Linked DNA regions of Homo sapiens: all the other regions are linked to region 4. Evidence: promoter capture Hi-C in 16 types of primary human blood cells and fetal thymus (Javierre and others, 2016). All regions are on one chromosome and are shown on one strand. Each heading gives the region's core, a stretch centred on a gene start or on the middle of the fragment in contact. The rest is flanking DNA. Distances are from core to core; before and after follow the strand shown.

The links. The method cuts DNA at HindIII sites, captures the fragments that hold promoters and counts their contacts. A CHiCAGO score of 5 or more calls a contact.
Region 1: a fragment that was not itself captured here is called in contact with the fragment with the promoter of ACTL6A in region 4 in 6 of 17 cell types (M1 macrophages, M0 macrophages, M2 macrophages and 3 more); the score reaches 11.6 in M1 macrophages.
Region 2: a fragment that was not itself captured here is called in contact with the fragment with the promoter of ACTL6A in region 4 in 4 of 17 cell types (M1 macrophages, total B cells, M0 macrophages and 1 more); the score reaches 7.6 in M1 macrophages.
Region 3: a contact is called between a fragment that was not itself captured here and the fragment with the promoter of ACTL6A in region 4, in 4 of 17 cell types (M2 macrophages, M1 macrophages, M0 macrophages and 1 more). The highest score is 10.3, in M2 macrophages.
Region 5: a contact is called between a fragment that was not itself captured here and the fragment with the promoter of ACTL6A in region 4, in 2 of 17 cell types (M1 macrophages and monocytes). The highest score is 7.5, in M1 macrophages.

What each region holds. Positions count from the first base shown.
Region 1 is chr3:179,416,791-179,419,490 of GRCh38, reverse strand. It overlaps GNB4 (G protein subunit beta 4), which reads left to right. Exons shown (of 10, transcript NM_021629.4): 4 at 1-92. Among named protein-coding and RNA genes, the nearest start is that of GNB4, 33 kb to the left of the region's middle. The HindIII fragment of the contact is 1,755 bases long and covers 396-2,150 here.
Region 2 is chr3:179,399,217-179,401,916 of GRCh38, reverse strand. GNB4 (G protein subunit beta 4) reads left to right here. Exons shown (of 10, transcript NM_021629.4): 10 at 598-2,700. The coding sequence ends at 704. Among named protein-coding and RNA genes, the nearest start is that of GNB4, 51 kb to the left of the region's middle. The HindIII fragment of the contact is 949 bases long and covers 836-1,784 here.
Region 3 is chr3:179,379,873-179,382,572 of GRCh38, reverse strand. All of the region lies in intron 14 of MFN1 (mitofusin 1), which reads right to left. Among named protein-coding and RNA genes, the nearest start is that of MFN1, 34 kb to the right of the region's middle. The HindIII fragment of the contact is 1,542 bases long and covers 631-2,172 here.
Region 4 is chr3:179,561,630-179,564,329 of GRCh38, reverse strand. ACTL6A (actin like 6A) reads right to left here and starts at 1,404. Exons shown (of 14, transcript NM_004301.5): 1 at 1,213-1,404. The coding sequence starts at 1,237. RefSeq lists a silencer at 1,313-1,542. The HindIII fragment of the contact is 9,325 bases long and covers 1-2,700 here.
Region 5 is chr3:179,361,932-179,364,631 of GRCh38, reverse strand. MFN1 (mitofusin 1) reads right to left here. Exons shown (of 18, transcript NM_033540.3): 5 at 2,150-2,274; 6 at 227-335. Among named protein-coding and RNA genes, the nearest start is that of MFN1, 16 kb to the right of the region's middle. The HindIII fragment of the contact is 4,299 bases long and covers 1-2,700 here.

The DNA of each region.
Region 1 (2,700 bases), core at 24-2,523, 140 kb after region 4:
GACTCTGTGGGTCGAATACAAATGCGAACAAGACGTACACTGAGGGGCCACCTAGCTAAAATCTATGCTATGCATTGGGGATACGATTCCAGGTTTGTACCTGTCATTACCTGTCATTTTTAAACTGTTGCAGAATTATTTTCATTAAGAACCATCATTTGCATTTTCTTTGTTTAAAAACAGAATATATTCATGAAGCGTTTGCAGAAAATGCATCTCAGATGAACATGCTGCTTTCAATAAGAATATTAATTGACTCTTTAAAAGTATAAACATTTTTAATATGGAATCCAGGACAACTGTTCAGAAGAGGATTCCTTTTCTTTGCAGTGGAACATTGCAGACATTCTTTGTTTTTTAAATAGGCACAAAGCGTTTTTACTGTATATGAAGCTTGAAATTTCAGTTCATAAGCAAATACGTATTGAACACCTATGTGCAAGTTTTTGGATATTGCTATAGTTTGTTATTACATAAATTCGCAAATAATGGAAATTACATGAAACAAAGGTGTTTGTACTGAATACATCTTTTACTCCCTCGACTGCATCACAGAAAGGTGTGTGCTTGAATGTGCAAGCTGACCATCTGCAGGTGCACAGGCACACGCACAGCTGCTACGTGGCCTACAGTTAGATAGATTGCTCATCACTGTCATTCACTATGTGTATAAGGCTACAGCACAGCCTATGTTTTTCCATTGTCTGGCAATAGCAGATGTGTCTGCTATCACAGTGGTTTACTTGTTCCTTTGATTTGGTTAATCTTAATGGGAAATGCCTAAACCAAGAAACTTCTATGTTTTAATAGAAGTTGCACATTTATTCTCTTCTCCCAGGAGACACTAAAATTATAAAGTAGAAGAAGCCTCAATTGTTGCTCTAATTGGGATACTTGACCACAATAATATAGAACATGTGCCTCTTACGAAGGGATACATAAAATTATATAATTGGCAACTGACATAATGTCTTAATCTTTTTCTTTTTCTTTTCTTTTTTCTTTTTTTTTTTTTTTTTTGAGACAGAGTTTCACTCTTGTTGCCCAGGCTGGAGTACAATGGTGTGGTATCGGCTCACTGCAACCTCTGCCTCCCAGGTTCAAGGGATTTTCCTGCTTCAGCCTCCCAAGTAGCTGGGATTACAGACATCCACAACCACGCCTGACTAATTTTTGTATTTTTAGTAGAGAGGGGGTTTCACCATGTTAGCCAGCCTGGTCTTGAACTCCTGACCTCAGGTGATCCAACCGCCTCAGCCTCCCAAAGTGCTGGGATTAATCAGGTGTGAGCCACCGCGCCTGGCCGAATGTCTTATTCTTTTTCTTAAAGGAGTTGAAGATAAAAATAATTTACCTGTTGATAAAGCAAAATTTTAACTTAAAATATAGTAACTTGAAACAATGTTTATGGTTCTTGCTTTCCTTAAACGTTTTCTGAAGACTGTTAATCTTCATAGAAAAATGAAACCATCATCCAGGAACCTATCTCACATAGTCTTCCCACCCATCCGTGTTATCAATCCATTACTTAATGTTCTCCTCAACTCTTATGCTGATGATGCCAATTGATTTCTAAAGAATTTTCTTTAGATGCCATCCTATACCCCACTATCAGATAGATCTTCCCTTTTGTAAAACCTTGTAGTGATTGCTACCCAAGAATCTGATAATGTTATTTACCTCTAGGGAAAGGAACTGGGTGGCTGATGATAGGCCCAGGAAGGTGCTTTTTAAATTTTCTTCTGTATATCCTTTTTTATTTTTTGAATTTTACACCATGGTGAAAAGTAAAAATTCCAAACAAGGCTGGGCATGGTGGCTCATGCCTGTAATCCCAGAACTTTGGGAGGCCAAGCGAGTGGATCACTTGAGGTCAAGAGTTCAAGACCAGCCTGACCAACATGTTGAGATCCCATCTTACCAGTCGTGGTGGTGCACACCTGTTATGCCAGCTATTCGGGAGGCTGAGGCAGGAGAATCACTTGAACCTGAGAGGCGGAGGTTGCAGTGGGCTGAGATCGTGCCATTGCACTCTAACCTGGGTGTCACAGTGAGTGTCTGTCTCAAAAAAAAAAAAAAAATCCAAACAAAACAAAAAATTTAGTGGCTAAAATTACTTAGGAGTTCATACTCTTTAGTTTAACAAAGCTTTCTGCAGTTTAAGCCCAGTCTGCTTTTCTCAACTTATTTTTCCATTTTCTCACAAACTGTACTACTGGAAGACCCACAATTCCTGAAACAACACTCAGTGTATTTTTCTACCTGTCATTGATCTTACATAGCTTTCTCCTAAAATACAGCCTTTTCTGTATCTTTAGCTCTCAACATTTTCTTTCAAGACTCATTCTCTTGTGATTAACTCATCTAGCCATTGTTCCTCCTTTACTCTCCTGTGGCATTTATTTTATACCCCTCTTCTGACAGTTTTTACTTACTTGATTTAATATAAATATGAGTAAATGTCTTATCTTCACCAGATGGTAGAGGCCTCAAGAGCAGGCGATGTATCCTGCGTTGTACCTCTAGTATTGTCATATTCTCAGGCTCTCAATTGGTGTTTTTAGATTGGATGAAATATGGTTGTTAGGCTTCTATGTACATTCTTGTCATGAAATTTAAGTAAGTCAGTAAGTACTAAACCAGTCAGCTAATATCCACCCAAATCTTGTATAACTAAGATGTTGTTACCACAAAAATGTT
Region 2 (2,700 bases), core at 61-2,560, 160 kb after region 4:
AAATGAGTTTAATGTGTGAAAGAAATGAAAACTAGATGAGTTTCATGGTTTCAGAAAGTTATAACCAATAACATTCCAGAGTTTGGTGATTAGCATAAGAAAGTAAATGAATTATGTTGGTATTCTTGGAAGCAGTGATGTGAGGCAGCTTTGTTCTTACGTTTTTGTCGTTCCTGTGGTGAAGGGCTCCTTCAGTGAACTTCATTGAAAATCTTGTTTTTGTTGAGAATAGCATACATAGCTCAGTAGCAAAATTTGGAATATCGAGAACTTATTAGAGATGTGGAATAATTGTCTGCATATGTTTTCCTAGATATAAGTTGAATTATAAGATGATTTTTCAAAAATTAAAACCACAAATTGATGCATGTCAAAATTCAAATAATCCAAATTTATAAATACATCCAGCTTACTCCTAACTTGTCTTCTTACTCAGAGAAATTTGTTGTTTTCTTTTAAATTATTATTATTTTTTAACTGATGAACTTTCAAGAAAACTGGACTGATAGTTTATAAGCACCCTTTTAAATCTCTGCATATACTTGTTTAATTCTAAAACCCTACAATTGCCAATTTTTTACTGAATTTTTTTTTCAGGTGTCCTTGCTGGTCATGACAACCGTGTGAGCTGCTTAGGTGTAACTGATGATGGCATGGCTGTGGCAACAGGCTCTTGGGACAGTTTTCTTAGAATCTGGAATTAACAGTGTCATACATATTTGTTCTCCATTGATATATCTGGAGAAATCAATGCTACAGCCTATAGCTGTGAAAAAATTCTACCTTATATTTGCAGGTGAAGATTTTTCTATTAGATTATCTACAAAAACAAGCTTTCAGTAAACTACCAAAAAAAAAGTGGGGGTGGAGGAAAAAAGGCAAAGGCGCCTTCTGAGATCAAAAGGACCAGTGTATTAATTTGAGGGGTTGGGTTATTTTAACCTTGGTGAATTGTTGTGTGTACTCAGAGTGTATTTTCTTTGTGTAGAACAGAATGTACACATTATAGCAGCTCGCCATTGTGTTTGCATTTTTTAAGAAGTACATTTTTAACTTTGTATACACAAGAAATGTCATATTTTTGAGTTTTGTAATGGAAGAACCAGGCACAGAAACAGACAGAAATGATACTGTATGTGTGTGTATTTATGTCTGAAGAAAGTCCCCTTGAATTCTGATATCTCTTTGAATCTAAGAGATCCTGATAGCTTCATGTTTAAGAGCATTGACAGGTGGGGCACCTCTGAGGGGAGTTCATTGTTTCTCATGCATCATTTGCCATATACTATTAATCAAAGTGCTTGCTTTCAGTCCTTTGAGGGGACAGATAATCTGAAGGCCAGAGATTAGAGATTTCACTGATATTTTGGACATACATAAGAAACATCATTATAATTAATAAAAAGTAGGTAATAGCATATAAATGGTTCTTGACATTTTAAAAGCCTGGTTATGATCAGTTGACACTTTGAGTACCCCCCTAAATAGCTGGACTTTCCTTTTCATTTCATATTTGGAACTAAGTTTGTAGCGTATACTCATCTTTCAGAAGTTTGGTAAACATTGGGATTGTCCCTGCATCTGAACATCTTTCCCAGTGCTATCAGTATACATCTAGAGAGGAAATGCAATGTGACAGTGTTACATTTGGAGAGAAGTGTGAAATCTAACCAATCGCTAGCACATATTTGTTGTAATACGGTGGTTTATTTCATGTTTGCATACTATAAAATCTGAATTGATGTGAAATATCTGTGCCTTTAAATTTCTTAAACCTTTAAGCTTTTTGTTCTGTTTTGCAACATTTTGTAGTATTTCTTCCCTTCCTTAGCACAAAATACTGGTTTCTAAGTGGTTTTGCTTCAAAGGATGTCTAGATGTAAGTGATTCCACTTAAAGCCAAAATAAAAATTCCTAAAGCAGTTCTTAAAGGAGTTAGAGAGCTATATTAAACAGTTTTTCTGTGGTATAATAATGTGTCTCTTACTAGAAGTCCCCCACGACCAAGTTAAAGATACTTTTCCTGTTGGATTCTCTTTTACAAATAAGTCTAAATGACTGATAATAGAAGATTGTTAGTCTTGCTTGATGGTAAAGTCTTGGATTATTCTGATATATAGACGTGCATTGTTTTGTAACTTAGTTACTTTTCAGATAGGTCTGTGTTAACTTTTGAACATGTGTAACTTAACCTAAATACTCCCAAACTTTACCTCTAAATTTTTGTTTTTATGTTGTGAATGTGCTAATATGTGCATCAACTGTAAAGATGTATCAGTTTTATTAAAATCAGTTGACAATTAGAATAATAAAGTGGATAAAGGCAAATTAAGATATAGGACCAAAACAGAATATTGTAGATGGCAGTTATGAATGTATATTTATATTTTGATTAAGATTTCTATTAACTTTTTGGCTGGGCAGAGTGGCTTACACCTATAATCCCAGCAATTTGGGAGGCCAAGGTGGGCAGATCACTTGAGGTCAGGAGTTCGCGACCAGCCTACCCAACATGGTGAAACCCCATCTCTTCTAAAAATACAAACATTAGCCGGGCGTGGTGGCACATTCCTGTAATCCCAGCTACTCGGGAGGCTGAGGCAGGAGATTCGCCTGAACCCGGGAGGCAGAGGTTGCAGTGAGCCGAGATTGTGCCACTGCACTCCAGCCTAGGCGACAGAGTGAGACTCCATCTCAAAT
Region 3 (2,700 bases), core at 152-2,651, 180 kb after region 4:
AGGAATATAAATCATGGTGCTATAAAGACACATGCACACATATGTTTACTGCAGCACTACTCATAATAGCAAAGACTTGGAACCAACCCAAATGTCCAACAATGATAGACTGGATTAAGAAAATGTGGCACATATACACCATGGAATACTATGCAGCCATAAAAAATGATGAGTTCATGTCCTTTGTAGGGACATCGATGAAGCTGGAAACCATCATTCTCAGCAAACTATTGCAAGGACAAAAAACCAAACACTGCATGTTCTCACTCATAGGTGGGAATTGAACAATGAGAACACTTGGACACAGGAAGGGGAACATCACACCCCGGGGCCTGTTGTGGGATGGGAGGAAGGAGGAGGGATAGCATTAGGAGATATACCTAATGTAAATGATGAGTTAATGGGTGCAGCACACTAACATGGCACATGTATACATATGTAACAAACCTGCACGTTGTGTACATGTACCCTAGAACTTAAAAGTATAATAAAAAAAAATTAAAAAAATGCTTGTATTTATGCTAGTTTATTTGAAATGTGAAAACCAAATCTTTTAAGAAAACAGAAATGTTTCAAAAATGAATGTAGCACCACCTGCAACAGTATTGGACGAAAGCTTTAGGATAAGCTTTCCCTTAAGCATACTACAGGTTGAGTGTCCCTTATCCAAAATGCTTGGGACCAGAAGTGTTTCAGATTTCAGATTTTTTAGGATTTTTGAATATTTCATAGATATAATGAGCTATCTTGAGGATGGGACCCAAGTCCAAACACAAAATTCATTTATGCTTCATATACCTTATATGCATAGCCTGAAGGTAATTTTATCCAATATTTAAATAATTTTGTGCATGAAACAAAGGTTGTGTACACTGACTTATCAGAAAACACAGGTGTTGCTATGTCAGCCACCCATGTGAACACTCTATGGTTGTTTGGCATCACCATCATTCTTGATTGAATTTACATACTACTGACAAGCAATCATTTTCTTACACGGATTCACACAAAGGAACTTAATAGTAAAAATATAAGACACACCATTAATAACAGTGAAAAATAACGTATTCAAACTAAGCAGCACAGTGGCATCACCAGAACACCTGTATCAGCTGTTAAACAGCAACAATGGCAGGCTTTCAGTCTCTACCTACAATGTTATGTTTTGATTAAAAAGTTCCGGTACACAGTACTTTGTTAGGTGAGAAGAAACATCAGAAGCAGTTGAGGGACCAAGAAGTGGGTCCTCTCGGCATAATAAGACATTGTGCTGAATGGCCTTTTAAAATGTTTCCTGCAGTACCACCTACTTGCCTCTTTAACAATGGTTTTTGTTGAAGTCTCTCCTTGATTTTATAAACCTATTTCTTGTTCTGTTATGAATACATGCTGCTCTAGTGCTTCAATAAGCCCATCACCATGCTGCCTATAGGCAGTTGTTCTGCGAGGTCAATGAAATCATCTTCATTATCACCATTATCATAATCACCTTGATTTAGAAGCATTTTAGCTATTTTGCCATCAGTTAATGAATGAACAACTGAAACCTCATTATCAATGTCAAACACTTCTTTGATATATCCTTCTTCCAGCTTACGGATGGACTCTGAAGATATTATTTTTTGCATAAGGAGCTCACTTGACATACTTCAAAGTCACCAATTTGCTCCTCATCATCAATAAATGTAGTGACAGGCAGAGGCTGCAGGCATACACAACTGAGTCACTGTCTTCCAAGTGCTGGCATATATGGCATCCTTCATCCTAAACTCCTTGTGCTGGCAAAAGCATCTATGGCATCTTTCATTCTAAACTCCTTCTGAAAACCTTCCACACCCAGGCCTCAGTTCACTGCTGCTAGCATGCTGCCCAAAAAAGGTTTTTGTATTTACTCTTCATTGATCGTAGAATACCCTGGTCACAAGGTTGAAATAATGAAACACTTTTTTTAATAAGAATTTCAGCTAGACGATGAGCAGAATAGTTGTCAAGGAATAACAAAATCTTGCAGTCATCATCCGGCCTAGCTTCCCTGCAAGTGCACACAAGCTGGTATAAAATGTTTGTGAAACCAATCAGAAAAGATGTCCCTAGGGATCCATGCCTTTTTGTTAGTACAATAATGGACTAGTAAAAAAAATGCATTCCTTGAAAACAGTGAGGATGCAAGCTTTTGCCTATCACAGTAAGTTCACATTTATGCCTGCTGCATTAGCACATCCCAGCACAGTTATTCTGTTCTTTGCATCCTTTATTCTTGTAGGGGCTGTCTCCTCAGCTGTAGTCAGTGTCTTTCTGGGTCAATAATGGCAAAACAGTGATGTTTCATCAGCATTATAGACTTGTTCTGGAGTCAGATTTTCATCAGAGACAATCTTGGCAAATTCATCAATGAATTTCTCTGCTGTTTTGTGATCAAGATGCTTTAACACCACAAACCTTTAGAAAAGTTAATGCTATCTTACCTTAAATTTCTCTAACCAGCCTATTGAATACTCACAGTTCCCTTCGATTTTCAGTTCATTTTAATAGATGTTTATTTCATGATCAGCATGTCCTTAAGTGGCACGTGTTCACTGCAATGCTGATGGATCCACTCTTTCAATGCATGATCAAGATCTTCGTTTTTAACTTTCTGCAGTGTTTTTGTTTTTTTCATTAACTTCTGTCATCATTTTTAGCATGGAACTTCAACAGTTT
Region 4 (2,700 bases), core at 155-2,654:
GAAAAATCTTATTTTTGTTGTTTCCTACCTGTAAAATGACATCCTTTATAGAAACAGCATCACTACTAGACACAGTAACAACAGCAATAGTCTGGATTTGTTTTCTGGGTCTCTAACTCATCAAACACAACCCAACACATGAATTATATGTATCAGTGTTTCGATTAACCTGCAGATCTTGCAAAAATGGAGGCTCTAAATCAGTAGATTCTGAATGACGCGTGAGATCCTGCATTTCTAACAGGCTTGCAGGTGATGCTGACACTGCTGGTCCATGGGCCAGACTTTAAGTGGCAAATGCAGCATTATTTCATTTAACCTTCATGCCCACCCCCATCGGCTAGGAATTATTCCATAAATGAGGCCTGAAGTTGGAAAGTTACATAAACTGCCCAAGACCAAAGCGCTTAATAAAGAGTGAGGTGGATATTTCAACCCAGGTCTGTAACCCCCGGCACCTGGTAATCTTCCTACCACACCACAGTCTAATCAAAGAAAGTGAAAAAATAACACGCCTAGGACCCCCAGCAAACTTTCTGGGCATCCTTAAATTACACGTGCTCCTGAATTGATCTCAAACAGACCCGCCCACGAGTCACTCTGGAGACTCCGCAGCCAAAAAACAGGCAAGAGTTACTGAAAGGTGAGGCAGCTCGCGCATGGGGCGCAGACGGGGAGGAGGCAGTACCCTAAGTGGCCGCCGCTTCCCTAGTCAGTTCTACGGCTTGAGGCTCGCTTTGCCACCTATGGGACACTCTGGGAACCCTCCGTCCACGCTTGCAAACCGCCGGGACCTTCCAAGTTTAGGCGGGCGCACACGCGTCCCGACACAGCTGAGTCCAGGAGGCACTCGGGGAGATGCGACCCTGGGGCGGTCACCCAAGCCGGGGCCCGGCGGCCGGCTAGACTGAGCCTCCCGCCCAGCCCCGAGGCTCCCTAGAGAACCGAGCGCGCACCCCAAAACCCTGCTCCTCCGGGGACAGAGGCAGGAAGAGGCCACAGAGAGCCGCCACTTCAGGGAGCCCGAGGAGCACGGCGAGCCGGGTGGGCTCCGGGGGCGGGCAGAGCGTGGGGCGGGGACGGGGCGGGGAGGCCGGGGTCCCGAGAGGGGGAGACCGGAAGGGAACGCCGGGGAGGGGAGGGCTGGGAGCGGCGGTTACAAACCCCACACGCCGAAAAGGCGCGCTCTCTCGTCCGGCCGCACTCACTCACCTCCCCCGTACACGCCGCCGCTCATGGCTGCTGCCGGCGCGACTCCTACCCTAAGGGCTAACTGGCGAAGTGACTGCAGTGGCCGCGACTGCGAGTCTCGAGGAGCGATAGCCCCTGACTCCCTTAACTTCCACCGCCACCCACCTCAGGCAACAAAGCGGCGTCCACACACCCCGGAGCTCAGCCACACTTGCTGGCTCCTCCTATCAGCCAATCACTAGGGTCCAGGCCTAAGTCTAGCCAATCAGAATGCGGCTGCGCCGCATCCCCGCCGCGGCCCAGCAGGTTTAGCCAATCGAAGGCAGCCATGGGGGCGGGAAAGAGGAAAGCGACAGCAGGACAGAAGGAGTTGGGTTGCGGAGCTGGAGGGGGCGGAGCTTCCCGGGTGGGCGAGGGAATGGGCGGAGGCAGTGGGAGAAGAAGGAGGAAGGCTGGAAGAAGCATGGGGGCGGGACTAGGAGGTGCGTCTGGGCGCTGAGGAGCGGCGGGAACCCGGGTAGGGGAAGGTAGACCCCTGGAAATTGAACGGGTGTCTCCACGCCGAGATTCCTGTCCAGTGACTGTGGGGAATGCGGATTTCTTTCTTTTTTTCTTCAGAAAAAGTATTTTAAACTAACTTTTATGTTGAAAAAGTAAAAATTTTGCGCTCCACTTTGGGATAGGGGAATCAGTAAATCAGACAAATTGATAGGATCTTGCAGTTTTTAAAATGGTTATTAATAAGTAAAAGAAGAATGAAATTATGCGGTATCCCAGCTAAACCTAGGTAGCGCTTTAAAAACTATTAAAAAACTTACTCATTTCTTTAAAAAAAAAAAAAAATTTCAGGCCGGGCGTGGTGGCTCATGCGTGTAATCCGAGCACTTTGGTAGGCCGAGGCGGGCAGATCACAAGGTCAGGAGTTCGAGACCAGCCTAGGCAACACAGTGAAACCCTGTGTCTACTAAAAATGAGAAAAGTAGCCGGGCCTGTAGTCCCAGCTACGCAGGAGGCTGAGGCAGGAGAGTCGCTTGAACCCGGGAGGCAGAGGTTGCAGTGAGCCGAGATTGCGCCACTGCACTCCAGCCTGGGCGACAGAGCAAGACTCTGTCTCAAAAAAAAAAAAAATCAATTTCTTTTATCCTGTGAGAGGTATTTAAAACAGCTAATCAATCTTCATTCAAGCAAGCACCCAATCCTAAATAGGCATCCCAAAAACAGCCTTAGTCCCCTATTTCTACCAGCCTAGTCCAGATCACCTTCCTTTATCCCCAGATTACTGCAACAACTTGTTGCTGTGTCCCTTTGCCACTCTTGATCAAGGGAGCTTCATCTGTGAAAACGCCCAAACCCGATCAGGACACTCCAGCGCTCAAACCCTTAAGATTGCTGCCTATCCTTGTAATTGATCCTTGTCTAGAGTCTAGACATGCAGTGCCTACTTTTAACCTTAGAAACGATTGACTAAAACCCCATCAGTCTCAGTGGCAGAGGGTGGCAGAAAGTGAT
Region 5 (2,700 bases), core at 97-2,596, 200 kb after region 4:
CTAGAACCATCAAGCCCTATACTGCTAGAGAAATCCAGGGAACTACACACTATAGAAAGACTAGAAACAGCCCTTCTGGTTCTATGAAAACACAAACCCCTTCATTCATGCCTGTTTTTAGAAGTTTTTTCTAATCCACGATATGGATTTCCCTTGCTTTTCAGAATTAAAACAGATACCATTTCATTTCCTACCATCGAAACACAATAATATGATTAAATCCTACCGTATTCATTAGTGTTGATTCAGAGTTTGCGACCAAAACAAAGACATCAGCATCTAGGCAAAACTTATCAATCCAGCTATCCAGCTCTGTAGTGACATCTGTGCCTGGACTAATGAGAGTGAAATAAAAATTGTATTATATTTCTTAAAAAGAAAATTTGGGTTACAGAATTTTTTCAGCTTTTATATATAATTTGAAGTTTAAAAACCAGGATTTCCAGCTGTCATCTGTAAGAAGTCTAGGAAATTTTAACTTAGTGATCTTTGACAAAGCAAATAACATGCTCAATATTTCAATCTTTTTAATGTTTATGCTTTAGATGGCTGAAATATAAAACTAGGCTAATAGATACTAAACAATGAGGGTTCAAGCAGCTATATCCAGTATGGCTCAGAGATGATTTAAGCACTTATAAACACAAATAAAAAAATATAAATTTAATATACCAACTGTACTAGGAGCTGCAGTGAAGAATTTGCCAACAATAAATATTTGTAAAAAGTTAAAAAATTTATTCATTTAAAATTTTTATGGGTATATATTAATTAAGTATACATATTTATGAGGTATATGAAGTATTTTGATACAAGCATACAATGTGTAATAATCACATCAGGGGCTGAGTGCAGTGGCATATTCCTATAATCCTAGCATTTTGGGATGCCAAGGCGGGAGTTTGAGTCCAGGACTTTGAGACCAGCCTGAGCAACATGACAAAACCCTGACTCCACATACACAAAAAAAAAATTAGCTAGGCTTGGTGGCATGCCCCTGTAGCCCCAGCTACTCTGGTGGCTGAGGTGGAAGGGTTGCTTAAGACTGGGAAGCGGAGTTTGCAATAAGCCATGATCCCACCACTGCACTCCAGACTGGGCAACACAGCAAGACCCTGCCTCCGAAAAAAAAAAAAATCACGTGGTAAACGAGGTATCTATCACCTCAAGCATTTATTCTTTGTATTACAAACAATACAATTATATTCTTTTAGTTATTTTTAAATGTACAATTAAATTGTTATTCAGCCAGGTACGGCAGCTCACACCTGTCATTTCAGCACTTTGGGAGGCTGAGATGGGGGGATTACTTGAAGCCAGGAGTTTGAGACCAGCCTGGCCAACATGGTGAATCCCCGTCTCTACCAAAAAATACAAAGATTAGCCAGGCGTGGTGGCTACTCAGGAGGCTGAGGCACAAGAATGGCTTGAACCCCGGAGGGGGAGGTTGCAGCAAGCTGACACTGCGCCACTGTACTCCAGCCTAGGTGACAGAGTGAGACTCTGTCTCAAAAAAATAAATAAAAATCAATTATTTTTCACTACCGTTACCCATTTTGGTACCAAATACTAGATCTCATTCATATTTTCTTGTATCTATCCAACTGTCAATCTTGACTGACTGGGTCATAGATACAATCTGGCTATGAAATAAAGCTAAACTAGTTAACATTGTATTTAAACCAAATATCTTGGTGTCATGAACATCTTCTCTCTCCTCTGTTTCTATGGATTACTTGAAACACTCATTTCCATTTAAAAGGAAAATCCATTATCAAAAACAAAATGGAGCCAGGTGAGGTGGCTGGTGTGTGTCTGTAATCCCAGCTACCCAGGAGACTGAGGTGGGAGAATCACTTGTACCCGGCAGGCGAAGGTTGCAGTGAGCCAAGATCGTGGCACTGCGGCACTGCACTCTGGCCAAAAAAAGTGGCCATCCTTAAAATTTCTTGAAATGGAATCAGAGTGATGAATTGGTGCTTTTATGTAACTTATAAAATAAAACCAATACCATATCTCTTCCTTAATCTAGCTAATGAGAACAAAATGGCAACTGAATGTTGTAATTTTTTATACCATATGCTAAAGTAAGCAGTATTATACTATTAAATAAACTTCCAGAGAAAATGCAATCCACATGTAATTTTACCTGTCTACTAACACCAGGTCATCTCTCAAGAGGGCACATTTTGCTTTTGGCCAAAACACACGTACAAGACAGCCAGCTTTCAAATCTTTGTCCATGTGAAGGGCATGGGCCAGTTGATTAACTGTCTAAAGCAGGAGGAAAAGAAAAAAATAAACTCCACTTGTAATAAAATTCAATAAAAATTAAAAACATTGTGGTACATTTATTTTAGCAAAACAGGTATATAAAAGGTAAAACTCTGAAATAAAACCTTCTGAGCAATCTTGAGAACCTGAATTTTTAAATTTCCAAGTAGAAAAAAAATGGTTCCCTCAAAAAGAACTCCAGCAACAGAATTCTAAGCAACTCCTGATACTGATTTTGTGAAGTATATAAGTTCTGGAGTCTCTGTTCTTTTTGCCTATTTGTATTTTCTGATTCTACTGAAATAAATGTGTATCACTTAGTCATATGGAAGAAATGTCATTAGAAGAAATGTCATTATTAAAACAGGTTAAAATTACATAGCTTTTAACACCCCATAGAAAGGAATGAAATCAAGTCTTTTGCAG